Regions from separate parts of the Homo sapiens genome. Here region 2 is linked to region 1. The links are contacts of gene promoters, found by promoter capture Hi-C in blood cells and fetal thymus (Javierre and others, 2016). All regions are on one chromosome and are shown on one strand. Each heading gives the region's core, a stretch centred on a gene start or on the middle of the fragment in contact. The rest is flanking DNA. Distances are from core to core; before and after follow the strand shown. Region 1 holds the start of ADORA1 (adenosine A1 receptor). Region 2 overlaps LOC124904486 (a long non-coding RNA gene).

Region 1 (5,947 bases), core at 1,682-4,181:
ATGGCCAGGCTCAGAGGCCCCGCTCTTCTAATGCACTGAGACCAGCTTTATATGTGCAGCCCAGCAGCAACCTGGGACTAATGGCAGCATGTGGGCCCCTCAGTGGATGAGCCTATGGGGCTTCTGGCTGTGTTCCCTTATTCACCCCACCTTCCCTGGAAAACCTGGAGGGTGGAGGGAGGTAGACAGGGCAGAGAGACTGGCATCAAGCCACTGGGCATGGGGAATCAGGAAGGAAGGCAGATAATTAGATCACACTTCTGAGTGAGCTTCAAGGAGACCCTCTGAGTCTTAGTTTCCCCCTTTAAAAGCTCCTGCTCCACCTCCCTTACAGCGGCGTGATGATAACAGGAAAAAATCATGCATGTAAGAAAGGCTTTGAAAAGTTAAATGTGCACAAATGTAACACAAAGGGAGAAACATGGGTCCCTAGGCCTGCCCGGGCAAGGGGCCAAGTGAGGTCAGAGGCCCTACATCCCAGAGAAGCTATGCCGGGGGTGGCAGGTGCTGGAGATGGCCAGAGCTCCCCAGGAGAAAAGGAATCTACTGGGGGCAAGAATTCAAAGAGGGGGCAAGCATGCCTCACAAGAGCGTCCCAGCAGGGCCAGTCCCTGGCAATATGCCCAGGCACTCGCTGGCACTTGGTGGCCCAAGGCACTGCCTGGTGATGAGATTGTGGCCTGGCAGGGAGCTCCAACATGGGCTGGACACCCACACTGAGGACGGCACCAGCAGGCCACCCATCCCAGTGCTGCCTGGGAGCAGCACAAGCACCTCTACTGTGACCAGCAAAGAGGTGGTTTTGCAACAGAACAGCAATATGAGAAGTAGGCACCAGCATTTTTCCTTCCTCCTGTCTGTAACAGAGGTCCCATAAGTGGGAGTGAGGCAAAGGTAATCAGACTGTTGGGTTCAGCTGGAAAGCCCTGGAAGGAACAGCTGGCTAGCACAGAGATACCTGGTGAATGAGAGAGCCAAAGCGTGCCTTTGGGAAGCCTGCCGTGGTCTGGCTGGAGAAGCAGCACTCCTGCCCCTGTTGTGCCACCCTCAGTATGTTCCCACCCCACCCTAACTCTCTTCTCTGCCTCTTCCTCTTCCTCTTCCCTGGGACTGGCAGAGCTCAGCTCATTCCTACCCAGCACTCACTGTGACCCCATCTTAGTGGCTCTTCCAAATCTCCCACCTCCACCCCAGGCCTGACAGGCAGCCTCAGGTTCCCTGGCTGCAAGAGCTTCAGCTCTGAGGTCATGGGCACTGGTAAGTTCACAGTACAGTCCTCCAGCCACCCATCCCCCTCCTGTTTCTCTGGCCCTGCAGAGCGGAGCACGGAAAGGCAGAGTGAGGACTGGAGCACGATGGCCCAAAGAACATCTGGCTTACTTGGGGTCTTATGCTCTACCTTTTTTCCTTTCTAGATGGCCCTCAAGCCAGCCATCATGTGGTGCTGCGAGTACCTTCGGCGCTGTGGACTCACCGGAGAGGGATCTTGACCCGGAGGTAGCGGTCCACAGCAATTGCCAGCAGGGCCAGGATGGAGCTCTGGGTGAGGATGAGGACCGGACAGGCAACCATGAGGCAGGTGTGGAAGTAGGTCTGTGGCCCAATGTTGATGAGGATGGCGAGGGGGATGACCAGGGCACCCACGGCCACATCAGCCACCGCCAGCGACACGATGAAGCAGAAGGTGGCATCCCGCAGCGCCTGGTTCACCTTCACCGCCCAGATCACCAGCACGTTCCCGGGCACAGAGACCAGGGCGATGAGCACCTCGATGCCGATGTAGGCGGCCTGGAAAGCTGAGATGGAGGGCGGCATGGCGGGCACAGGCTGGGCACATCAGCAGACGGGCACCAAGGGGCACGAGGCAAGCACCTGTGTGGTCAGGGAAGCCTGGGATGGGGAGACCCGTCTGGGAGGGGCAGGGAGCTCAGGCTGCCCTGGAACTCCAGGTACCCTGTGATGTGTCCCACTTGTCACATGCAGCTCCTACCCAGGCTGGAGGGGCACCCGGACCCTTCTCTGCCTAATCTTTGTCCCTTCCCTTTATCATTCCCAGAGGTTCCATTCAGCAACTTAAAATAGCAGCGCTCACTCCTCCACTGGCTTTTTTATCAGGTGTGAGGCAGCTCCCAGCGCGCGCGCACACACAGACACACGCACAGAGGGGTCTCCCATGACTGGCTCTGCCCACCCCTGTGCACAGAACAGGATGCAGGGAGCTCACCATCCTGCCTGCTGGCCGGCAGGGGTCCCAGAGGCAGTGCCCAAAGTTCCAGGGAACAGAGCTCCGGGCCGCGCGCGGTAGGGCTGGGCTGGGCTCTGGACAACGCGCGGCAGCTCATAGTCCTCCGGCTCCCGCCGCAGCGCTCCCAGCCCGGCCTTTCAAGCAATCACATGGTACGGCAGAGACTCAGCCCCGGACGCTTTTAAAGAGGTAGCGCCCCTGTTTCGCACCTGGGACTGGGGTGGCAGACGTGGGTCTGGGGACGGAGCCCAGGACAAGGCTGGGGCGTTTCTCCCTATTCCCCAGCGTGCCCGCACCTGCCCTGCGCCCACCCACTTGAGACCCGTCTGGTGCCTGGATCTTAGCAGTCCTCTGGTCCCGTTCCAGCTCTGTCGGGGAACCTTGCCCATGGCCTGCCCCAAGGGGGCATTCCGGTCTCTTCTTTCAACCCTCTCCTGCACCCCCATTGGGGAGCCCCAGGGGTGAACCGAGACTCAGACTTACCCAAGGTCACCAAAGCTGGCAGAGCTCCCGGCTGCCTGACTGTTCTGTCCAAGTGCCCCCACACCTCGACGCCTTCAGCAGCCGCTAGCTCCAGGGATTCCTGGGGAAGCCAAGGCCGGCCGGTAAGCTCCAGAGGGATGGTAGCTGGCTGGGACTCGACTCGGGCGCCTGCGGCTCTGTCGCCCCCGGCGCAGGAGCTGAGTGACAATCGGGCTCCGCACACCGGGAGGGGGCGGGGGCGGCGGCGGCACCCGCCAGCCCCTCCCTCCTCATCCTCCGTCTCCTCCCCCACCCCCTCCTCTTAACAAAGGAAGTGATACTGGGTGAGAAAAGCTGGAAAAAATGTGAGCTTTTCGAAGGGCCTGGTGTGTGCGCCCAGCCTCAGGACTGGACAGAGGCGCATCCTTCCTGTGTCCACTCTCTCCCTTCTCAATGCAGGACTCCTGGGAGCCCTGGTCTGGCCTCCAGCGACCCCTCACCCCTCACGGCACAGCATCTCTTCTGCAGGACTTCAGAATGCCCCCTCTGGGATCTCCCAAAGCAGTCGGTAGCCCTGGCACCCTCCCCCAATCCTAAAACCCTGCTCTCTCCATGAAACCAGTCCCTGCATCTTCTCATCCCATATTGTTTTGCAGGCTCTACCCTGAGTCATTATATTCCTTTCTCATCCATCTTTCAGAATTGCCTTTTAGTCTATTAGCAATTTCTATTTTGCAGATAAGGATGCTGAGGCTCAGGGAAGTGACCTAGCTTCCCAGGATCTCCTGGCAGTGTAACCCGCTCTGCGCTCCTTTTCCTTCCTCCTTCTTCCTCTTCATAGCACAGCGCTAAGCCATAAGGCATCCAGTCCAATCCCCTCATGTTACAGATAAAGAAGCAGGCTCAGGGAAGCAAGGGACTTCCGGAGGGTCACAGGGCAAATCCTAACAGGACCAAAATAAGAATCCCAGGCTCCTGACTCTCTCCACTGGGTCCAGACCCCTCCCCTGGCCACCTTCTGCCAGTTTCGGTTTAGGCAGTCCACTGATATTAACTAATGACCAGACCCTGGACATGGATGGATGCCTCGCAGAGATCCCAACCTGAGAAATCCTTGTTTGTGGGTATTGGGCAAGGGTTCTAGGAAGGCAAAGAGAGTCAGGCTGGGGACCCCAATGTTAGCTAGCCACAACCCAACCTGGCCTCTGGGGGTACTGCCCCCCTCACTGGATCTCAGAATGCAAGGAAAAGGGTTCTGCCCAGAGGAGGGTGGGCACGTTGCTCCCATTGGGGGCTGCACTGAATCACAGTGAGGAATGATGTGGGACCCGGAACCTGGGTAGCTGGGAGGCAGGGAGGAAGGGCAGTTGAGTCTTCTGAGGAGGAGGGGGAAGCCCTCTGTGGGGAAAAATAACTTCCATTTCTGCCTTTAGGGGGAGCAAGGAATCAGTGCCTCAGACAGCAAAATTACATTCCTTCCCTAGAAGCTAGTTGGAGAAATTAGGAAGTGTAAACTCTCCTTCCTCCTCGTCCCCTTGCACTTCCCCTGCTGACTTTGTCAACACGCCCAACAGCACCTGACGTCCTGCCTACTCCCCCTGCCACCCAGACATGCAGGCCTTTGCGACCATCCCCTGCCTCTCCACCCTTTGCTTGACTTAAGCCATTTTTGGCTCAAGGCTTTCTCTCTCAGTTTACACTCAGCTTCCCAATGGTCACTCAACTAGATGTCAGAAGAGACTGTGAAGACCCAGATGGGCCCAGCTTGGGGACGGGGATGGGTGAGTGGGGTCACCCTGTCTAACTATTGACAGCATCTTCAGCTCTGGAGGGCAACTGAGCACCCACCACCACCTCCCATACACATACACTCCCACCTCCGATTCATCTTACCACAGGTTGCTGACATGTAGTGGATGCATTTGCATAATGCCTGTAGGTAATTTGTTTCTCAGTTCTGGGCAAAATAAGCCAAAATCTTCTTCCCTTATCTTCTCCATCCTTCCACCCCTGCCTGTTCCCAGCCTCAGGGATTAGACCAGCCTATTTGACAACAGAACTGGCCAAGGCAGGGTCTATTCCAGAAAGCTGCCTTGGGGGAAGCACACGGTCTCCTCAGTCCTCTGGCTTGACACGGAGGTAGGAGGGTCGGTGCTGAGATCTCCTGGGCAGCAGGGTCATTTGGTGCGGTGAAAAGAGCACTTGACCGAGAGTCAGAAGAGCTGGAAGCTGGCTTCTAGGCTCTACTCTGCCACTCACTGGCTGCGTGACCTCAAGCAGGCCACTTTTCCTCTCCTGGCCTCAGTTTACCCATCCTACACCAACAGCTGGTAAGTCCATTCCAAGGTGCGAGAGATGGGCTGAGATGGAGACCACAGAACTTGGTCCTTCCCCCTGGAAGTCTTCTAACTCCCAGCTCCCCTGTGAGGCACAGAGAGCAGGGCTGAGAGAAGGGGAAGTTTGTGATGGAGGCGAGTAGAGGAAGAGGCAAGGTCACAGATCTATAACGAGGAAAGGACAATGAGGGAGGCTGTAGGCAGAACAGATGGAGCCAAGGTGTCTGGAATGTATCCTGAGTCAAAACTCTCTGGCTTTCACAGTGTGTCCAGGACCCTTAGACAAGATGACCCTCCCCACACCAGGGTCCCCTCACACACTGCAGCCATGCAACCCTCCAAGCTTCACCTGCCTTCAAAAGCTGAGCCTTGGTTTCCCCACCTGTAACAGCAGTGTAGGAATACCCCTCGGTGTAGGATGGTTATGAGAACATAATGAGCTGGCTTTTGGAAAGCGTCCAGCACTGATATTTTATCAAAAAGGCAAGTAGGCAGCACCAGGCCAGTGAAGCGTGGGGGTGGAAAGGGAAAGAGAATGCAAAATTATGAAATCTGCCCTGCACAGCCAGGGATGCTAATGTTGGTACCAAATCCCACAGGTACCAAGTTTAGGTGCCCTCCAAGATGCCCAATGCAAAGCTTCTATTTTCCATGTGACTCAGGGGGTGAGATAATGCCACAGTAAATGTAAAGATCGCCTGTGGTCCTTTTACCGCTTGATCCTACTTCTTTTCTTCCTAAGCCCCTGTCCTGGGTTTCTCCACTGGCCCCTTGCACCTGCAGCCTCCCCACTGTGGGCAGAGGTGGGTGGGGAAGAGGGAGGGCTGAAGGGGAAGCACTCCTGGGTGAGGGGAACCTTGCTGAGCAGCCCTGCTCTTTTCTCCCTGGAACTCTCCAAATTGGG
Region 2 (5,821 bases), core at 2,175-4,674, 140 kb before region 1:
GCAAGTTGGGGGCAGTCCTGGAATTGGTCTCCTTCACTGGAGAACCAGAACTGACGTCACTGGGCCCACCCAGACCCCCGCAGGAGTCCGCACCTGGGTGTCCCCTTCACCCTGTTCTCCCGGGTCAAAGGCCAACGCTGGACCATTTCTATATCCTGGGCCTGCTCAGGGAGGGCTCTGGGCTAAAGGAATCGCGATGCTGGGCAAATGCTCCCTCAGACACTTAGTGAGGAAGCGTAATTGGGGGACCACTGCAGGAACTGAGGTCCTGAAGGGGCCTGCAACAGCCCTCCCCTCGGGGAGCTCCCACCCCTGGGGGAGACAGGCCAGATGAGACTACCAAGAAGTCACACCCCTGCCTTCCTACAGGGAGCAGTGCTGGATTTAGGTGGAGGTCAAGTGGCCTGAGGGTGAAGGTTAGAGGGCTCCTGAAGCCAGGCCAGGCTGGGTTCTCTGGCAGGGAGTGGGCGCCCAAGCCCAGGATCACTGCCTTCTTGGTGGGAGTCTCCTATGCCATCCTTCCCCTGTGCTCAGCCCCTCCAGGATCATAGGGGCCACCCATTTGTCTTGCTAGTAGGGGCCCTCTTTATCCTTGAGAACGTACAGGTTGAGACAGTGTTCGTGTCTTGCTTTTTTGGGCTGGGCCACCTTGGTGCCATTCTTCTGGATGCTCCTGGGATTCAGGAAGTGAGGTCTTTGAAATGAACGTTCAGGCTGCAATTAACCCTAAGGATTTACTGCAGCTTACAAAGAAACTTTTTCTTTTCAGAGCTGTTGGCCAGGGGCCAGGGCTGTCCCCACTCCCATCTGGTCCTGGCGGTCTGCCCTTGAGGCTGGGGCAATATGAGGAGTGTGTAGGCAAGTCCAAGGCTATGACTCCCATCATGTCTCCAGGCTCCAGGCGTCTTCTTAGGTTGCCTGCCTGGTAACAACTGTAGTCAGTGTCTCACACAGGCCCCAAAGCTCAGCTAAGTCTCCTCACCTGGGAAAAGGCTTCCTTCATGGGCCCACTCCTCCCTGATTCTCTTGTGTGCCTGAGATCTTTTAACAATAGTTCCCATCACTGGGCAGTGAGTAGATGCCTCATACAGGGAAACCCCTCACTGCTGTACCATGATGATTACAGGACAAGGACTTGGAGCCAGATAGACCGGGATCTGATCCCAGTTCAGCCAATTACTATCTGTCACCTTGGGCAAGCTGCTTAACTTCTCTGAACCTCAGTTTCCAAATCTGTCAGTCAGGATAATAGTTCTTATGGCCTGGGGTTGTGCAGGAATGGAATGGGATAATGCATGGACTCCACGGAGTAAATCGTTTGTGTGATAGTGGCATTATTTCTTCTTTAAATGTCACTGTGACTTACTCTACTACCCTGAGGTCTGGTTCAGAAGTTCTGGTAAGAAGTTACAGGGTGATCCTGTGAGTTTGCATAGAGAAAGCACTCAGACACGGGCTGCAGGAACTGTGGCCACATTTGAGAGCACTTGAGCTACTGCCACACACTTCAGAATATCTGGAGGCAGGAACAGAGAAGGGGAGGTTGTGCATAGTATATTCCAGGCTCTGTGCTAGATCCTTTGCATCGGAGGCTTCAGTTAATACAAATTGTTTGTTGTAAGATAGCATTATCTCCAAGCCTAGAGAGGCCATGAGACTTGCCCGAGGCCAGAATCTAGTGTGGTAGAAGCTGCTAGTCTCCAATAACTTTCTACTATTTTATCAGGGTAAGAAAAGTTGTAGCAGGAAACATGGCTGCCCAGAATGAAGACTGCATTTCCCAGTCTCCTGTGTGGGTAGGCGTGGTCACATGACTGAGTTCTGGCCAAAGAGAAGTAAGTAGACGCGTTATGCAGCAGTGTCTGGGAACCTTTCTTAAGACACAGGTTGTGCATCTGCTGTCTGCTCCTTCTTCTTTGTCCCTCCCTCTGTTTTGCTACTTGGTAGGCAGGTGCTACCTTGTACCATGAGGGCAAGGGCCACTCAATAACAACACAATTGCTGCTGTTGTGAATTTTCTGTTACTCTCATTTCTACCTCATCTTAACTGAGATGCCCTGTGATAGAGTGGGGGATTTGAACCTGAGTCAGTCAGCTGTTTCTCAACACAATGCGAGGTTTCTGGGTCCCCTGTGTGCTCCTGCTGTACCTCATCAGCTCTTAGGTGTGAAGCATCCCTTAGAACTCTGATGAGGTGGCGTTGAAGGAGGGGAGCCACTCTAATGCAGCTTTTCGAACTCATCCATTCCAAAGATGGCTCAGGGCCTTTGCTAGATCCAGAGGCAGCTTGAGGGCGAAAGTCCAGGGCCCTGAGAGGGTGGAAGAGGTGACACTTCTAAGATCCAGGAAACCCCAGCCTCTGCCACAAGACTGGCTGCACAGCTACCCCTGTGGCAGGTGAAGGCAGTGCTCAGGTAGTCCTGGGACTCTTTCTAAACTTCTCTGGCCTGGCCCTCAATGTCCTCTGACAGACTCTAGCTTGCTGGGACACCTCTAAGGAAACTGCCAAGGGAACTGCAGAAGCAGGAGCAGGTGAGAAGTGCCCGGGTGTCTTCTTTCCATGGGGGAATTTGGAGAAGCATTCTGAGCCCAGCAAAGTGTCAGGCAGGCAAGGTAAGGCCTCACCTGATAGGAGGTGTATCCTCGTACCTAGTCTCAGCAAGGAAGGTTGCCAGCTTCATGGCTCTTTTGAGTTAAAAGGGCTGTAAGATCCTTGGTAAACGACCAGAGCCTGAATGTCACAGGGAAGAGGTTGGACTGGGACCCAATACAGCTGCCTATGTATCTGAGAAGACGCTATTTATAAACAGAGAAGGTATTTATTGGCTGGACAATCCTGAGGAAGTCTCCCACTTCTCACTCTCATTCATAAAGTGGGGATCATGATCACTACCTCTCAAGCTTACTGTAACATTGAATGAGGTAATGAATATGAAAACACTCAAAATCTATAAAGTATCTACAAACCTGGAAGATTATAATTCTGCATTTGTACAGTAGAAATAACAGTACCATGGTTGCTATTAGTGCCCAGCCAAATCCCCTTTACTGGTCTGGTGCAACCCTCCATCCCTGCCCACCGGCTGCTGTGAGGTTTGGCTGGTAACAGTTCACAGTTATTCCCTCTGCAGAGACTTCCCCGGGAATGGAAGCTGCCTTACTTGGGGCTTGCAGCCGATGCTTGTCTGACACAGGGGCAGGAAAGGCCAGTCCCCGACCTCAAGACAAGATGAACTCTGGTGTAGCACATGCTTCAGGGATCCCCATGAAATCAGGCCGCAGCTCAGCCACAGCTGACACCACAGCCTGGCTCCCTCCTTCCCCACCCCACTCTCCTTCCTTTTCTTTCTTCTGAGGGTTCTTCCCCAACAGAAGAAGATATGCATGAAATCTGTCCCAGGCTCTGCTTTTAAGGAATCTGGTCCACTTGTCTGCCGTACAAAGTTGCTATGAGGGTTAAATAATATAATACAGATGAAGAGATTAGCCCAGTGCCTGGCATATACAGTGCATATCCAATTAATGTTAAAGATTGCCATTATCCATGAGACTGGAGCATCAGGAACATCTTAGTGTAATAGTGAGGTGTGGAAATCTGGTGAGTGAGTCAGTGGATTGAATTTTACATGCTTAGGGACTGGGGTGGGCAGAGAGAAGGGCAGCTGGGTTTCCTTGGGTATCACTGGTTGTCTCAGCTTTGGGCAGTGAGGGTCCTTTACACAGCTAGGGAAAAGTTCCAGTCATTACATACTTCTACCAGCAGAGGACGCCACTTCCATACAAATAAGTGTTTCCTCTGCTATCTGATGCAGTTTTCATCAAAGCAGTCTAGGCTGGCAGGAAAGATCAGGTACATGACAGAGCAGAAAGTGCCTTCAGATTTGCACAGATAATAGGAGAGGGCAGAACAGGAAGAAACAGTGAGTTAAGCTGTTCAGGAAGCTTCGTGGGAGGTGAGGCCTTGAGCAGGGCACTCTAGCACCAGAAGGAGTATTGAGTGGAGATGGCATTCCCAGGGAAGCCACTACCCTAGGCAAGGTGACCAGGGCCTGAGCCAGGGCCGTGGCAGGGAGGCAGCCACGAGAGGGTATGAAGGACACCAAACACAGGGACAGGACTGATTTCAGCTGAGAGGTCTAGGAGGAGATCATGGGCCCACCAACATGGGGTAGACGTCAGGAAGGAGCACGTTTTTATAGGACAGAGCACACTTCTCCAACTGGTTTGACTGCCCTGTTACAATGTCCTCTGCAAGCCATCATTCTGTAGGATTCCTGTTTTGTGTGGATTCTAGAAACCAGTGAAATATTCAGAGGTGTTAATAGCATCAAGATTTCATTGGTTCTTTCCATTCTTTTTATTTTTATTTTTTGAGATGGGGTCTCAGTCCCTGCCCCAGGCTGGAGTGCAGTGGCACCATCACAGCTCACCACAGCCTCAACACCCCAGGGCTCAGGCGATCCTCCTGCCTCAGCCTCCTGAGTAGCTGAGACCATAGGTACGTACCACCATGCCTGGCTAATTTTACATATATACACATATATGTGTGTATATATAATTATATACGTATATATACACATATATACATATATAATTATATACATATATACATATATACACACACATATATGTGTATATATATACACACATATATATGTATATATACACATATGTATATGTGTGTGTGTGTGTGTGTATATATATATATATATATATATATATATATATTTGAAGAGACAGGGTCTCCTTACGTTGTCCAGACTGATCTTGAACTCCTGGGCTCAAGCGATCCTCCTGTCTCAGTCTCCCAAAGTGCTGGGATTACAGACGTGAGCCACCGCGCCTGGCCAGCTTTTTCCGTTTTGAGTAGAGACGGCAAGAAGCGCCCCACAGCTTGCCCTTGCTTCGGAACTCGGGGTTGTGAATCAGTCAGGATAGAAATTAATGGTGCAGTGGGAATAAAGAGGAATGTTAGATGATCTCGCAGGGGTGGGGGAGAACCCAAAAAGAAAGAACGAACGTGAAGAAGCCTAGCTCTCCGAGACTGGGGTTCAGTCCTTGCTGGAGAAAGTGCGTTGCAGCCCATTGAGGGCAGAAGAGTTCTCTGGGTTGTCCCTGGACAGAACCGGGCCACAGTCAAGAGAGCGAACATTGTGGGGAAGAGAACGGCAGGCCACGGCTCAGGGGCTGGAAGCCCCCTGCTGGGGTGCCCACAAAATTCCTCCGGAAGTTGCTGTTGGGGGATGCGCTGAACTCATGGCAAAGCCACCTAGGACTCACGCAGAACTTGCTGGGAAGCTGCCCCCGGGGAAGTGCGCATGCGGGACTTCGCAGGAAACTGGCTGGGTCAAGTCGGCTCCACCAGGAATCCACCCAAGACGGTGCGGCTGAACTCGCCACTGGGAAACTAAGTGGGACACCCACAGAACTAGCCGTGAAGATGCCTGCGGAAGTGCCCTGAAACTGAGCTGAGAACCCCGGGGGTTCAGAGTCCCGAAAGCAAGTAGGAAGGAAAGCTTAAAGAAACCGCAAGAGAAGTCTCTTCTTCTCTCTGTCCTCTAGCGCCCTCTACTGACACAGTTTAACACTGTGCCCGCTGGCAAGGGAGAAACGTTTGGAGCCAGAGAGTAATAAACTGGTAACTGGTACAGGATGTTAGCCAACTCCACTGAGGATGGGAGAGCTCTTCTATAAGCCCTTTTTGAAAAATAGTACTTGAGGACATAGTCCTGCCAGCTAAGAAACGAATCAAAATAAATAATTCAACAGAAAAAATGTAAAAGAAAAGGCAAAGAACAATCAAATCAATAAAACTAAATGA

What was found. The method cuts DNA at HindIII sites, captures the fragments that hold promoters and counts their contacts. A CHiCAGO score of 5 or more calls a contact.
Region 2: a contact is called between a fragment that was not itself captured here and the fragment with the promoter of ADORA1 in region 1, in 3 of 17 cell types (M1 macrophages, M0 macrophages and M2 macrophages). The highest score is 10.8, in M1 macrophages.

What each region holds. Positions count from the first base shown.
Region 1 is chr1:203,124,710-203,130,656 of GRCh38, reverse strand. It overlaps ADORA1 (adenosine A1 receptor), which reads right to left and starts at 2,931. Exons shown (of 4, transcript NM_000674.3): 1 at 2,729-2,931; 2 at 2,225-2,379; 3 at 1,475-1,872. The coding sequence starts at 1,815. RefSeq lists an enhancer at 2,227-3,207. The HindIII fragment of the contact is 5,732 bases long and covers 1-5,388 here.
Region 2 is chr1:203,267,195-203,273,015 of GRCh38, reverse strand. It overlaps LOC124904486 (a long non-coding RNA gene), which reads left to right. Exons shown (of 2, transcript XR_007066798.1): 2 at 1-5,821. Among named protein-coding and RNA genes, the nearest start is that of LINC01353, 17 kb to the left of the region's middle. RefSeq lists an enhancer at 1-185. The HindIII fragment of the contact is 1,041 bases long and covers 2,904-3,944 here.